3 separate regions of the Homo sapiens genome follow, and all the other regions are linked to region 1. Evidence: promoter capture Hi-C in human tissues and cell types (Jung and others, 2019). All regions are on one chromosome and are shown on one strand. The core of a region is centred on a gene start or on the middle of the fragment in contact, and the rest is flanking DNA. Distances in the headings are between cores, read along the strand shown. Region 1 holds the start of ST3GAL1 (ST3 beta-galactoside alpha-2,3-sialyltransferase 1). Region 2 overlaps ZFAT (zinc finger and AT-hook domain containing). Region 3 overlaps LOC101927845 (a long non-coding RNA gene).

Region 1 (3,469 bases), core at 970-3,469:
GCAGGGGTCCTAATGTTTGGGGCAGGAAGGGGAGGTGCGGGAAGGCACTGAGGGACCCCCGCACTGGGCGCCCCTTCCCCACCGCAGAGACAAGCGGCAGTTTCCACAGCAGCCGGCAGGGGGCAGTGCACCTTGCCTTTTCGAAGCCTCTGGGCGCTTGGGCAGCGCGGGGTAAAGAAAATCAGGAGGCTCCGCCCGCAGCTTCTACGAACAGGCCAGGAGTAGAGCCCCCGCACGTAGTAGGTGCTCCAGGCACGTCTAGAAGCCTAAAGGGCTTGGTCGATACATTTGAACTCCATTTTAGAGACTGGAAGGGAAGAAGGGGGCGTCCGGGCCCCTGCCAGCACCTTCCACCTTGGGGCCTTGTCAATGAACACTGCGTTAGCACCTACGACGTGCCAGGCGCCCTGGCGACTATTGGAAAACCCGGCTCCCCTCTCACCCCGTTTTCCTCGTTGGCGAGTCGGCCTCGCCTCCTCCTCCCGTCTCTTCCTCTCACCACACACACCCAGCCGCAGAGCGGGGGTGGGCGCTCGCTGTCTCCCTGGAGAACCAGCTCGTCGCAAACTTGCGGGGCTTGGGGACCCGCGAGGGGGAGAAGTCGGGAGAGGCCAGGGGTGCCCGGAAACAATCACGAGAAAGCCGGGCGAATGCCTGATGCAGGGACGCGGCGAGCCAGTCACTGCCCTCAGGGTCACGGCTGACTCCCTCTGCGGGACTCGCCCAGCCCGCGAGACGCAGTGACCTGCCCAACCCCCACCCCCTTGCGCGCTTCTGGGTGCGCACGTGTCCCCTCGCCCAACACACCACCGAGCCCCGCGCATGGTACGGCCGCCGAGGACCCTAGCGTAGGAGGGAGGAGCGAGTCAGGGCTCCAGCTGACGAGCAGAGCCAGACGATCCCCACACGCTTCCTGGGAGACCCGGCTGCAAGGCCAGGCTAATGCGCGCTCCGACGTCTCTGTGCCAAGCCGGGGCGCAAGCTCAACCCCCATCTCAAGTTCAGCCGCGCTTCCTCCCGCAAGGTCACGCTTAAACACTCGCGCAGAGAAAGGAGGAGCGGAAAGTTGCGCCACCGTCCCGATTCCAAACTAACTGTACCCTCACCAGAGCGCCTCGCCCCAGGGTCACCGCTGTCCGTCCCCGTGCGCTCCCAGAAGGGGTGGCCCTGCCCCCACGCAGGTCACACACACGAGAGACACAGGCAAGTTGCTAACTTTTGTCAGATTATTTCTTGGGAGCTGCGACGCCTCACGGGGTTGGGGCGGATTCAGAGTTTCGAGTTGCCACTAACACGACTCCGGCCGTGCTCTCCTTGGCCCACCCGCGTCCCCCACTGTCCGCCACGCCGCGTTCAGCTCTCTTGTCCCGGGTGTCAACTTCACCCCCAGATCCGGAGCAGCGCGCTCTGACGGCGTCCCCGGGGCCGATAGCCACCTCCCGGATCTGCGCCTGCTTGCAGCGGATTGGGGGACTCGATCCGGATACTGTCCCACGGCCGCTCGTCCAGAACACTGGCGGCCTCCGCGGTGTCCCAGCCTGTGACCCCAAATCCGCTCGAGAGCGCCTGAGCCCGGCCACCCAGCGAGGTCTCCTCCCACGGGCGGCCCCAGCGGAGGAGATCCCAGCCCGGCGCCGGGTGCAATGTCACTGGGGCTGCTTTCGGGAACCGCTGCCCGGGACTTGGCGTAGGTTCCCCACAGAGCTCCAGGCAGCTCCTCCAGTGTCGGCCGAAGACCCCTAAGCCCGAACCTCCACCCCGACCTTCTTCCTCTCCCAAAGCCCTGGGTGGTCGCCGCTGCCAAGGAAGGGGTCTCCCTTCGAATGTCTTCCACTAGAATCCCGGGGTCTTCAGTCCCAGCTCCACTGTCACACCCTCCTAGTCCCCTCCCCACCCCTTCAGTTCCCGGGTCCAGACAATCAACCTTCCACTCCGAGAATCCACAGGAAACTGCCCGAGCCCCAACTCAGGCGGACGCAGCCCCCGCGCACCCCGAGCAGGGTTCGCCTCCGCGCGCGCACTCACCACGGCTGGAGACACGCTGGAGTTTCCGGGATTTGGGCATGAAGGGGTTCGGAGGAGAATACAGGGGTGTGGGTGTCCCGGACACTTGCCCCCTTCCCAGCTCACATCGCCTCTTCCTTCTCTCTCCGCTCTTCTTCCTCCTCCTCCTCCCTCCGGTCTAGGGCTCTTTGTCTTTGCAAAGTGTCGAAACTGTCTGGCATAGTGGGCTCCGCCGGCGGAGGCTGGAGCCGAGGAAGCGAGGAGGCGGGATGAGGGTGGGAGAGGGCTCGGGAACACCTTCCCCCGGGTGTAACGGGAGTGAAAGGCGGGGCGACCGAGGAGGGGCCGCCTTCCCTGGCCGGCCGGGGCCGGGTGCCAGGGCGCGCCAGAGCCCAGCCACCGCCTCCCCTGCGCGCGGCCCTCCCCTTCCTCCGCCCAGTGCCCGCCCCTCCCGACTCTGCGCCTCCGTTCGGCCCCGCCCACCCCAACTTGGCTCGGCTTTCCCTTGGCTCCGGGCTTCCTGCAAGCCGAATTTAGCTCTGCCAAGCCACGTGGACCGCAGCGGGCTCGGCAGAGGCCGAGCCTGGGAGACGCCGGAGGCGGCGGCTGCGGCGCGGGGACCTGATCGGCGCCCCGAGAGGAGCTCCCCGCTCTCTGGACGCGGCCCTCAAGCTGGCGGGGCTAAGGAAGAGCGCCCGGGAGGCCCGGGAGCCACTGGGGTCCGTTTCAGCAGGAAGACGGGCACGCACCGAGAGGATGGCAGTGCCCAGAAGAACTCGAGTCGGGGGCACGGTGGGGAGAAGGGGCCGATCCCCTGCTGGCGACCGGGCAGAGCCACCCACTTCCTCTAAGGGCGCGGGACTCGAGGTGGGATTTAGGGAGGGGGAAGGGAGGAGCGTGGGCTGGACGACTCTTGCGGCCAGAACCGCGTTCAGAGCCACAGAGCCGGGCACTGCGGCCGGCCCTGGTCCCGGCCCCGGCCCTGGCCCAGCCCTTGCCCTGGCTCGCCTGCCGCCGCTTTTTCCTTCCAGATGCGGAGGCTGCGGCTGGAGCTTGGGGTTTGCGGATTAGGCTTGCAGTTATTCAGCCCTCCCTCTTTTACAGGGAAGCGGGGGCGGTGGAGACTTCTTTTGCTGAAAGGCAGAGTGCAGCGCTTTGATGCTAAATGCAGTACACAAGTCATGTAAATCTGGTTTTACGGTTCTTAACCCCTTACTGAGACTACCTCTTTCGCAACTTTTCGGAGGAATGTTAGAGGAAAGAGGCACAGTTTGCCTTTGGGGTCATTGCATCCTTCCAGCGCCCCTTGCTCCAGCTGGAGAGAGATCAACCTTTTGCAGTGGAAGGGGAGAGTCCCCCAGCCTTTGTTTCATCAGACGGCTGCTGTAGTACAGGGATTCAGGCCAGGGCCCGCATGGCCGGACTTCTTGGTTCAAATCCTGCACTGCCACTCAACGGATGTGTG
Region 2 (4,531 bases), core at 1,456-3,955, 1.1 Mb after region 1:
ATTTGTCCAGATAAGCAAAGTGAGGCTTGGAGAAGTAACATCATTGGCTTCAGGTAATGCAGCCAGTAGGTACTAGGGCTGGGTTAAACCCACACTTGTCTGACAACAAGCTCATGTTTTTCACACTATTGAATACTGCCACTTCCATTCATTCTTTCATTCATTCATTTGCCAACCTACAGGGGGCTAGGTATGGGATTTCAAAGGCACAATCTTATTTGAGCATATCTACAATTGGAGACTTATTGTGACTTCTGATTTGGAAATGTGGATTTTCTAGGCTTCTGCTATGCCCACGGAGCAAATCAACATCAACAGGTGTGTCAGAAGGTATCCTGCCCCACCCCCCAGCCCCCTTACCATCTCCGGTTTTGCTTGAGTTGGGGGGTTCAGGTGTACTCAGAGGCCTAAGGGGAATAATAATCTCATCAACATTAACCCCTTCTTCCATGTGCTTCTCTGAAACGTGGGAGAGGAGTTCCGACTGATTTGGTGAGAAGAGGTTACAACATTTACACATAAAGATGGCCGTGTTTTCTGTAAGGAAAAAAAAGGAAAATATGTTATTTCATCTCCACATAAACAATTATTACTTCCAATTGCCAAAGACAATACCGAAAGCTGCCCTTCTGAGCCATCACCAGCCTCTACCAGATTGTGTCTCTCTGGCAGTCACCTCCATGGCAGGCCACTCACTTTCATCTTCAGGGAGATCCAGGGGCCAGAAAGTTCTTTATTCAGTATCTCAACCCTCAGTCCTTCTGGATAGTGTCTAATACAAACCTTCTTGTTACCCAAATCTACTCATCAGCCCAGATTCTGGGATAAGTACAGCCAAGTAAAAAATAAATATGCGGCCGGGCGCGGTGGCGCACGCCTGTAATCCCAGCACTTTGGGAGGCCGAGGCGGGCGGAGCACAAGGTCAGGAGATCGAGACCATCCTGGCTAACATGGTGAAATCTCGTCTCTACTAAAAATACAAAAAATTAGCCAGGCATGGCAGCGTGCACCTGTAGGCCCAGCTACTCGGGAGGCTGAGGCAGGAGGATGGCGTGAACCCGGGAGGTGAAGCTTGCAGTGAGCCGAGATCACGCCACTGCACTCCAGCCTGGGCGACAGAGCGAGATTCTGTCTCCAAAAAAAAAAAAATTTGCAACTTAAAAAACTAAATCCTACCCCTCAAATGACTGAACTGCACACTGATGGCAATTAAGCAGTCTTGCTAGATTCTCTCAAATTACGCACAAGGAAAAGTTGACCACAATAGCATTTCTCAACAGCCCAGCACCTTTCAATGAAACGGCAGGAATTTGTTGCCTTTTTAAAGCCACTGAATTCCTATTTAAAGCACTCTCATTGTTCAAAAAATTTACCAATAGTTCATTATGTTCATCTCATTATACTAGGCAGGAAGACATAATAAGGGAAATAAAACACTCACTTTTTAGACTGATAAAATAATTATAGGTATATACAAAATATTAAATTCAGGATTCAATAACAATTAAAAGCCAGATCTTTGTATTATTATTTTTACATTCAGACTGAAAGGAAGTGGCTTTGTCCACTGAAAAGGACAATGGCTTTGGAGCCAAAAGGCCCAGGTTAAATTCCCAACTCGTCCCTAAATGCTGGAAAGCTGAGGACCTCAGAGAAGCAGTCATCTGTCAGTTGCTGGAATCCATAGGAACTTTGGGGATGGAACTTGCCTATTCAGCAGCAAGAACCCAGCAGACACTCAGAAAGCACAACACTGACTCGGCGCAACTCTGCACCCATGGTGTGCCCTCGCCCAGCAGCTGGACGGCTGGCAATCCACACCTGGCTCCCTTCGGCATCCCCCTCACCAGCCTCCTGGGGAGGCTCAACGCTGCCTGGAAGTCACATGCAACTTCTACGCCATTTACTGCCTGGTGATGCTGGACAAATACATGGCAATCATACAAGCTCTGCGCTCTCTGGTGATGGTGAGCAAGTATCTCATCCTCCTCGCTCCTCACTCTCAACAGCTGACCTTGCTTCATATCTCACTGCAAGCAGCCAGAAAACAACTGCCTCTGCCACCCCTTCCAGCCCGCCTGCGTCTTCAGCTGTCTCCCCACCTCGCTCCTGCTGGTTTGAAGGTGGGCATAGTGAGGGGGACACAAGGTGTGCGGGTGAGAGCAGTGGCCCACCCCAGAGCAGGGCTATCATATCTCTGATATTGTCTGGAATTGCTGGTTCATGGAGATACTAAAAGCAGACCAACACTTCACTTGTGTGATCATTACTTTCAAATTCTCTAAAGATAGCGCATGCCTGATTGCCTGCACCCAGGAAGATGCTCCCACATCCCTGTGTGAGAAGGCTACTAGACAAAGGGTGCATGATGGCTTGTGCGTGCAGAACTCACCCTCTCTGATGATTGTTCTCCAGGTCATCAATTCTTCCCTCTGTACTAGATCTTTCCATTGGCCTATAAGCATACTCTTATTCTCCCATCTTAAAATGAAAACAACTCCTGATCCCCACTCCCCCAACCCATTTCTCTCCTCTTTACAGTAAAACTCTCCTACCAGAAAGAGGAAATGAGGAAAGGCAATAGGCCAACCCAGCCTTGCTGGCATGAAGGTGGAGCTCTTGGAAGGCACTGGAGTCCCAGGAGCAAGCCCCTCCCTGGGTTCACAGAAAGACTTTCTCCGTGAATTAGCAGGGAGGTAACGACCTGAGAGAATTCTTTCCTACCAACAACACATGAAATCAAAATTTAACAAAGCAGAACATTGCTTCGCCAATGAAAATCTCTCACAGATACTGCCAATCGATATTATTTTTTTCCAGGAAACGTTCTATTCCTAAGGAACCCAAAATGCTTCCCGAACAAGAAGAGATTAGAGTAATACATTTTTCTTTATAGGAGGCCAAGTTGTTTCCAATGTGCTTCTTGCTAATCCTACAATAATCCAATGATTTAGGCAGAAAGGGTTTGTAATCCCCAGTCCAAAGGTAGGAAACTGAGGCCGAGAGAGGAAAAGCAACTTGCTCAAGTCATTATGGGCAAGAGGCAGGGACCAGATTCTCTCCTACCTGCATTTGACAGGAGTTATGTTTGGCTACAGCCCATGAGCTGAGTTCCTCCAAGTTATAGCTAAAATACTTAAGACTCTACACCCAGCAGCATCTGAAATAAAACTCATTACAGCAAAGAGCGTAATCCCCAAAGCACATATCAACTTCAACTGTGTTCATTTCAGTGTCCATTGAGCAGTAACCACAGGTGGGCCCCACCCCAGACACTGGAGACAGAGATGAATCAGGCATGAGGTCCAGGCCCTGCCACAAGAGGAGGCCACCACATCACTGAACAGATAGACATGTCACAGAACAATCCCATGTAATGGTTTTTACTGAAATTATTTTATAGACATGTCACAGAACAATCTCATGTAATGTTTTTACTGAAATTATTTCCCAATACCTGTAAGTATTCTTGGTTCCTAGGATGCTCTCAGGAAAATGGGAATTCTGTGACATGTAACAGAGCTGAACTTCTGGGGACCACAGGGCTATTACAATGGGTCTCCTAGTTCAAAGGTACACAAAGCACTGCCCAGAGATTACATAAATAAAACTATTTTGCATTTGTATATGACAAAGTGTTGGAGACTACTGGAAATAAACTACTGCTCAGCTATTCCACACCACCTGAAGGCCTGAGGACCCTGGGTGGCACCTGGCCTTGGCCATCTGTTATGAATTTGCATTAACACATGTGTCTGTGTACTCAGCTCTCTCAGGCAGGGAAACTGGACCTGGAGCTCCCGAGGTGGAGGCAGAGACAAACACAGGAACCTGGAACGATTCTCACATCACAGAAGGCTCCGCCACGTGACGTGGGCCATGAGAGTGGGGTGGATACCGATCTGGACAGGCTGCCATGGACAGGAGAGGCTTCTCAGCCGAGAGACAACCAGAGCTCAGTGCTGCAGGGCAGTGAAACTCCAGGAAGGGCGCGTGGGCAGGAGACATGCAGGCTCAGGGAGGAAACACACAGAGTGTCGTGGAGGCAGGAGGGAGGGAAATGAGTGGATCTGCTGACAACACAGGGACCTGCGCCCACAGGGACAGAGATCCCCAGCACAGTCACTGGGCAGGCACTGGCAGCTCCTGAGAGAGCCAGCAGTCCACCAGCAGAGCAAAGGCAAGGAGAAACTGTCTGAAGGGGCTGGCCCTGAAGGAGAGGCCCCACGTGCCTGAGCTGTGCCAGCTCCCCTGCGTGTCCACACCCTGGATTCTGCAATGGCCCCATCACATGGCTCCCCCTAGAATGTGAGGTCATTGGAAACAGCATCTGGCTAGCCTTGGACACCTCAGTGCACCTGGAGGACAGCAAGTGGCCATGGCGGAATGAGGGAGGGAGAAGGAAGGAGTACATTGGCCCAAGACGGGTGGGACTGACACCAAAGAGCCTGTCCAGGGATGAGAGCAGAGATGATGGCCTGAGACACAGATCTGCAGAGGAGTCAGGCCAAGCAGGCATGACACCATCAC
Region 3 (4,739 bases), core at 822-3,321, 1.3 Mb after region 1:
AAATTGTGGCCCAGAGAGCAGGGGCTTGCCACTGTAACCAGGAGATTGCTGACCATGTGTTTAAATTTTTTTAGGCATAGAGTCTCACCGTGTTGCCCAGGCTGGAGTGCAGTGGCTATTCACAGGTGCACTCATAGTGCATTATATCCCTGATCTCCTGGGCTCTTTGGCCATGTTTCAAAGTTTCCTCAAGTTGCAGGTGGTGCAGCCTGAATGCCTTCAGGTTCTTTGACTCCAAGGCACTGCCTGTCCTTCCAAAGCCTGACTGCTTGTCCTAATTACAAGCGAAAAATGCAGGAGTCCCACCTTGACTTGTGAAAATGAGGTTATTGTGTTAAGCGATCCTTCTGCCTCAGTCTCCCAAGTAGCACGCCACCACACCTGGCTCTGGCTACAGGTTTAATACTTTATCTTTTTCTGTTGGACATTGAGTTACTGACTCTCAGCTCCAAACCCACTCTTTGCTACTCTGATTTATGATGCTGGGGCTGGGACTCTGCAAACCACATTTCTAGCCTGTCCACTGGCTCTGAATTTAGGTTCTTGGATGGGGGTGTGAGAGAGGAAGAAAGCCTTGGGCATCTCTGCATCCTCTGTCCAAGAATGACCCCAGCAGCAGTAGTGGACTCCAGAGTCCCCTTGGTTTCAGGTTGCAGGCGTTCCACACTCCTGGGATCAGCCTCCTTGCACCCCCAGTACATACCAACTGGAGCCCCTTCTTTAGACATCTGTGTTCAAGCTCCAGAGGGCCTCCCTCCTCAGAGATTCTACATTCTAATAATCCCGATCTTTTCTTCTGTTTCCTAGCCCTTGGGTTGGGAGCTGCTTTGACAGTTGCTGCTGTTGTACTTCTTAGTGCTCCCCCTTTTTTTCTACCCAGTACTTGGTTAATGATTCTTTGTATCAAGGTCTCTCTGTTAAAATAACCGGTAGAGTTTCTGTCTCCTGATAGGACCCTAACTAGACATGCTGTTTTAAAAGCCCCATTTGCATCCTTTTGCCTCCTCTGGTCTTTATTCTTATCTTGTGAAGCAGGGTGTGTTAATGTTATCAGGGAAACTGAGGCTCAGGCAGCTTTGACCATGTTTCGAAGTTCCCTCAAGTTGCAAGTGGTAGAGCCTGAAGGACTCCAGTTTCTTTGACACCAAGAGCACTGCCTGTCCTTCCAAAGCCTGACTGCTTGTCCTAATTCCAAGGGAAAAATGCAGAACTCCCACCTTGACTTACGAAAATGAGGCAATTGTGTGCTCTATTACAAGCATTATAAAGACTATGCTTTAAATGATATATTCCTTGGAAGTGAAAGGGCAAGAACTAGAATTTGTTAGTAAGTCTTCATGATAAGTTCCAAAATCTCAATAAAATTGGATTATTCTATGAGGCTTTCAGTACTAAAAAAATTTTACTGTGAAAATGGTGTAGGTTCTTGTTTATTTTTTGTTCTTCTCTATAAGACATTTTATTGGTTATATATTTTAGGGGCAAGTAATTAGTTGTATATTTTTCTATATGTCTTGTGGTTTTTTTTTTTTTTTTTGTGACGGAGTCTTGCTCTGTTGCCCAGGCTGGAGTGCAGTGGTGCGATCTTGGCTCACTGCAAGCTCCGCCTCCCAGGTTCACGCCATTCTTCTGCCTCAGCCTCCCTAGTAGCTGGGACTACAGGCACCCGCCACCACGCCCGGCTAATTTTTTGTTTTTTAGTAGAGATGGGGTTTCACTGAGTTAGCCACGATGGTCTCAATCTCCTGACCTTGTGATCCACTCGCCTTGGCCTCCCAAAGTGCTGGGATTACAGGCGTGAGCCACCACGCCCAGCCATGTCTTGTATTTTAAAGTGCATAAAGAATATGTGTGTTCCTCTGTAGTATCAAGGAATAGGGTTTCTCCTTACTTGAATATTCTGTTGGAGTGACTGTAATTGTTATATTGGCTAATCATTTGAAAATAATTAGAATAATGTGGCAAATGTAATATTTACAGTGTGCCGTGCACTGTTCTAAGTGTTTTACATATATTAAATTAACTTATGTAATTTCCACAAAAACCCTGAGAGTGGATAGTATTATAATATTTTTTTCATTGATACCATTAAGGCACAGGGAGAATAAGGAACTTGTCCAGAGTCACACAGCTGACATGTGTGAGAGCTGGGAATTGAACCCATGATATCTGGCTCAAGAGTTCTTGCTCCTATGCAGTATACTGACTCTGTTTCTCAGCTCACTCCTTTTTTGAGTCTGCAGTTGTCATAGTCAGGTTGTTTATGAGTGCTGGAAAATAAGAAACAGAACAGCAATGCCAAGTCTGTAGAGCATATAAACATGTTGGTGCAGTGCTATTTTAACAAAGGGTTGCCCCCACCCCCAGCGCTTAGAAAGTATGACGGATTGATTGCATTAATAGCCCCAATTATTCATGCCTCTTTTTATTCTACTTTTTGGTAATGCTCTCCCATGCTGACTCTGGGATTAACAATGTCAACTGCTGTATTAGATGTCTATGTTGTGTAACACATTACTACGATCTTACCAGCCTAAAACAAAGTATCTTTCTTATTTCCCACAGTTTCTGTGGGTCAGGAATCTGAGCAGGGTTAAAGGGGCCCTTTATTTAGGGTCTCACAAGGCTGCAATCAAGGAATCAGCTGTGCTACCTTCCTTTCTGCAGCTCAGGTTCCTCTTCCAAGGTCACATCGTTTGTTGACAGAAGTTAGTTCCTTGCAGTCATAGCACTAACGTCCTCATTTTCTTGTTGGCTGGTAGCTGGGGACGACTCTCAGCTCCTAGATGTCACTGGCTGTTCCTTGCCACATGGCCCTCTTACACTGTGACAGCTCACTTCTTCAAGGCCAGCAGGAGAATCTCTTATTTATGTTCGCTATGATGGAGTCTTATAGAACGTAATGAGATCATGACAATGACTATTCCAACACCTATGTACCATATGAGGGGACTTCCAAAAGTTCACAGAAAAATGGAATTAAAAGATACAAATTTAAAAATATAAACTTTATTTCCCAACACAAGTTCCATCAAGTTCAAGAAACCTTTGTAAGTGATTATAAAAGTCATGGCCAGGCGTGGTGGCTCACACCTGTAATCTCAGCACTTTGGGATGCCGAGGCGGGCAGATCACGAGGTCAGGAGATAGAGACCATCCCGGCTAACACGGTGAAACCCCGTCTCTACTAAAAATACAAAAAATTAGCCGGGTGGTGGTGGGTGGGCACCTGTAGTCCCAGTTACTCAGGAGGCTGAGACAGGAGAATGGCGTGAACCTGGGAGGCAGAGGTTACAGTGAGCCGAGATCACACCAATGTACTCCAGCCTGGGTGACAGAGCAAGTCTCCGTCTCAAAAAAAAAAAAAAAAAAAAAAGTCATTTAGTTCATCCCTAAAGAACTGAGGGTCCTGGGAATTTAACCATGTCAATGCAGTCTTTTAACATTATTAACTGAAGAAAAATGGATGCCATTTAAAGATTTTTTTTAAGATTAGGATACAAAAAATAAGTCAGAAGAAGTCAGGTCAGGAATGTAAGGTGAATGCCTAGTGATTTCCCTTCAAAACTCTTGCAGAATTTTCCTTGGTTGATGAGAAGAATGAGAAGCAGCACTGTTGAAAGACTCTCTGGTGAAGCATTCCCAGGCATTTTTCTGCTAAAGCTTTGGCTAACTTTCTCAAAACACTCTCAAAACAAGCACATGTTATTGCTCCTTGGTCTTCCAGAAAGTCAAGCAAAGTTCCTTGAGCATCCCCCAGAACCGTTGCCATGACCCTTGGTCTTGACCCCTCCACTTTTGCTTTGACTGTAAACTTTCATCTCTTGGTAGCCATGGCTTTGATTGTATTTTGTCTTCAGGATTATACTGGTAAAGCCATGTTTCATTTCCTGTTAAAATTCTTTAAAGAAATGCTATAGGGTCTTTTTTTTTTTTCCTGAAACAGGGTCTTGCTCTGTCACCCAGGCTGGAGTGCAGTGGTATGATCTTGGCTCACTGCAGCCACAACCTCTGAGGCTGAAACCATACTCCCACCTCAGCCTCCTGAATAGCTGTACTACAGTTATACACCACCACATCTGGCTAATTTTGTTTATTTTTTGTAGAGACAAGGTCTTACTATGTTATCTAGGCTTGTCTCAAACTCCTGGTCTCAAATGATACTCATGTCTCAGCCTCCCAGAGTGCTGGGATTACAGGCATGAGCCACTTTATCCAGCCAGCTTTAGCATCTTGATCCCAGATGTTTAAAATTTCCATTGAAAGTTTTCCTCTTGTCTGCAGTTGATCTGAGTGCAACAGTTTTAGCACCTATTGAATGGACAGTTTGTTCAACTTTAATTTTTCAGTCAAAATTGTGTAAGCCAAACCAACTGAGATATCTATGGTGTTGGCCATTGTTTCTGGTGTTAATTGTTGGTTCTTTTCAATTAGGGTATGAACAAGATTAATTTATTCCTCACAAATTGATGTGGATGGTCTGCCACTGTGGTCTTTCATATTCAACATCATCTCATCCCTTCTTAAAACAAGTTATCCATTTGTAATTTGCTGATTTCTTAGGGGCATTGTCCCCATAAACTTTTCACAAAACATCAATGATTTCACCATTCTTTCATTCAAGCTTCACTGTAAATTTGATGTTTGTTCCTGCTTCATTTTTAGCAGAATTCATGTTGCTCTAATAGGGGCTCTTTTCAAACGGATGTTTTATCCTTCTTAGGGCCTCAAATTAAATC

The links. Contacts are between HindIII fragments. The study calls those that stand out against the background at their distance.
Region 2: a contact is called between a fragment that was not itself captured here and the fragment with the promoter of ST3GAL1 in region 1, in 3 of the 25 tissues and cell types used here (dorsolateral prefrontal cortex, hippocampus and spleen).
Region 3: a fragment that was not itself captured here is called in contact with the fragment with the promoter of ST3GAL1 in region 1 in 1 of the 25 tissues and cell types used here (dorsolateral prefrontal cortex).

The regions. Positions count from the first base shown.
Region 1 is chr8:133,569,668-133,573,136 of GRCh38, forward strand. It overlaps ST3GAL1 (ST3 beta-galactoside alpha-2,3-sialyltransferase 1), which reads right to left and starts at 2,220. Exons shown (of 10, transcript NM_173344.3): 1 at 2,026-2,220. It overlaps ST3GAL1-DT (ST3GAL1 divergent transcript), which reads left to right and starts at 905. Exons shown (of 2, transcript NR_186509.1): 1 at 905-1,203; 2 at 1,391-3,469. RefSeq lists enhancers at 1-49, 7-860, 220-439 and silencers at 2,230-2,719, 2,910-2,969. The HindIII fragment of the contact is 11,226 bases long and covers 1-3,469 here.
Region 2 is chr8:134,657,201-134,661,731 of GRCh38, forward strand. It overlaps ZFAT (zinc finger and AT-hook domain containing), which reads right to left. Exons shown (of 16, transcript NM_020863.4): 2 at 361-537. Among named protein-coding and RNA genes, the nearest start is that of ZFAT, 54 kb to the right of the region's middle. The HindIII fragment of the contact is 7,966 bases long and covers 1-4,531 here.
Region 3 is chr8:134,871,487-134,876,225 of GRCh38, forward strand. The region is part of intron 1 of LOC101927845 (a long non-coding RNA gene); the gene reads left to right. Among named protein-coding and RNA genes, the nearest start is that of NCRNA00250, 36 kb to the left of the region's middle. The HindIII fragment of the contact is 4,143 bases long and covers 1-4,143 here.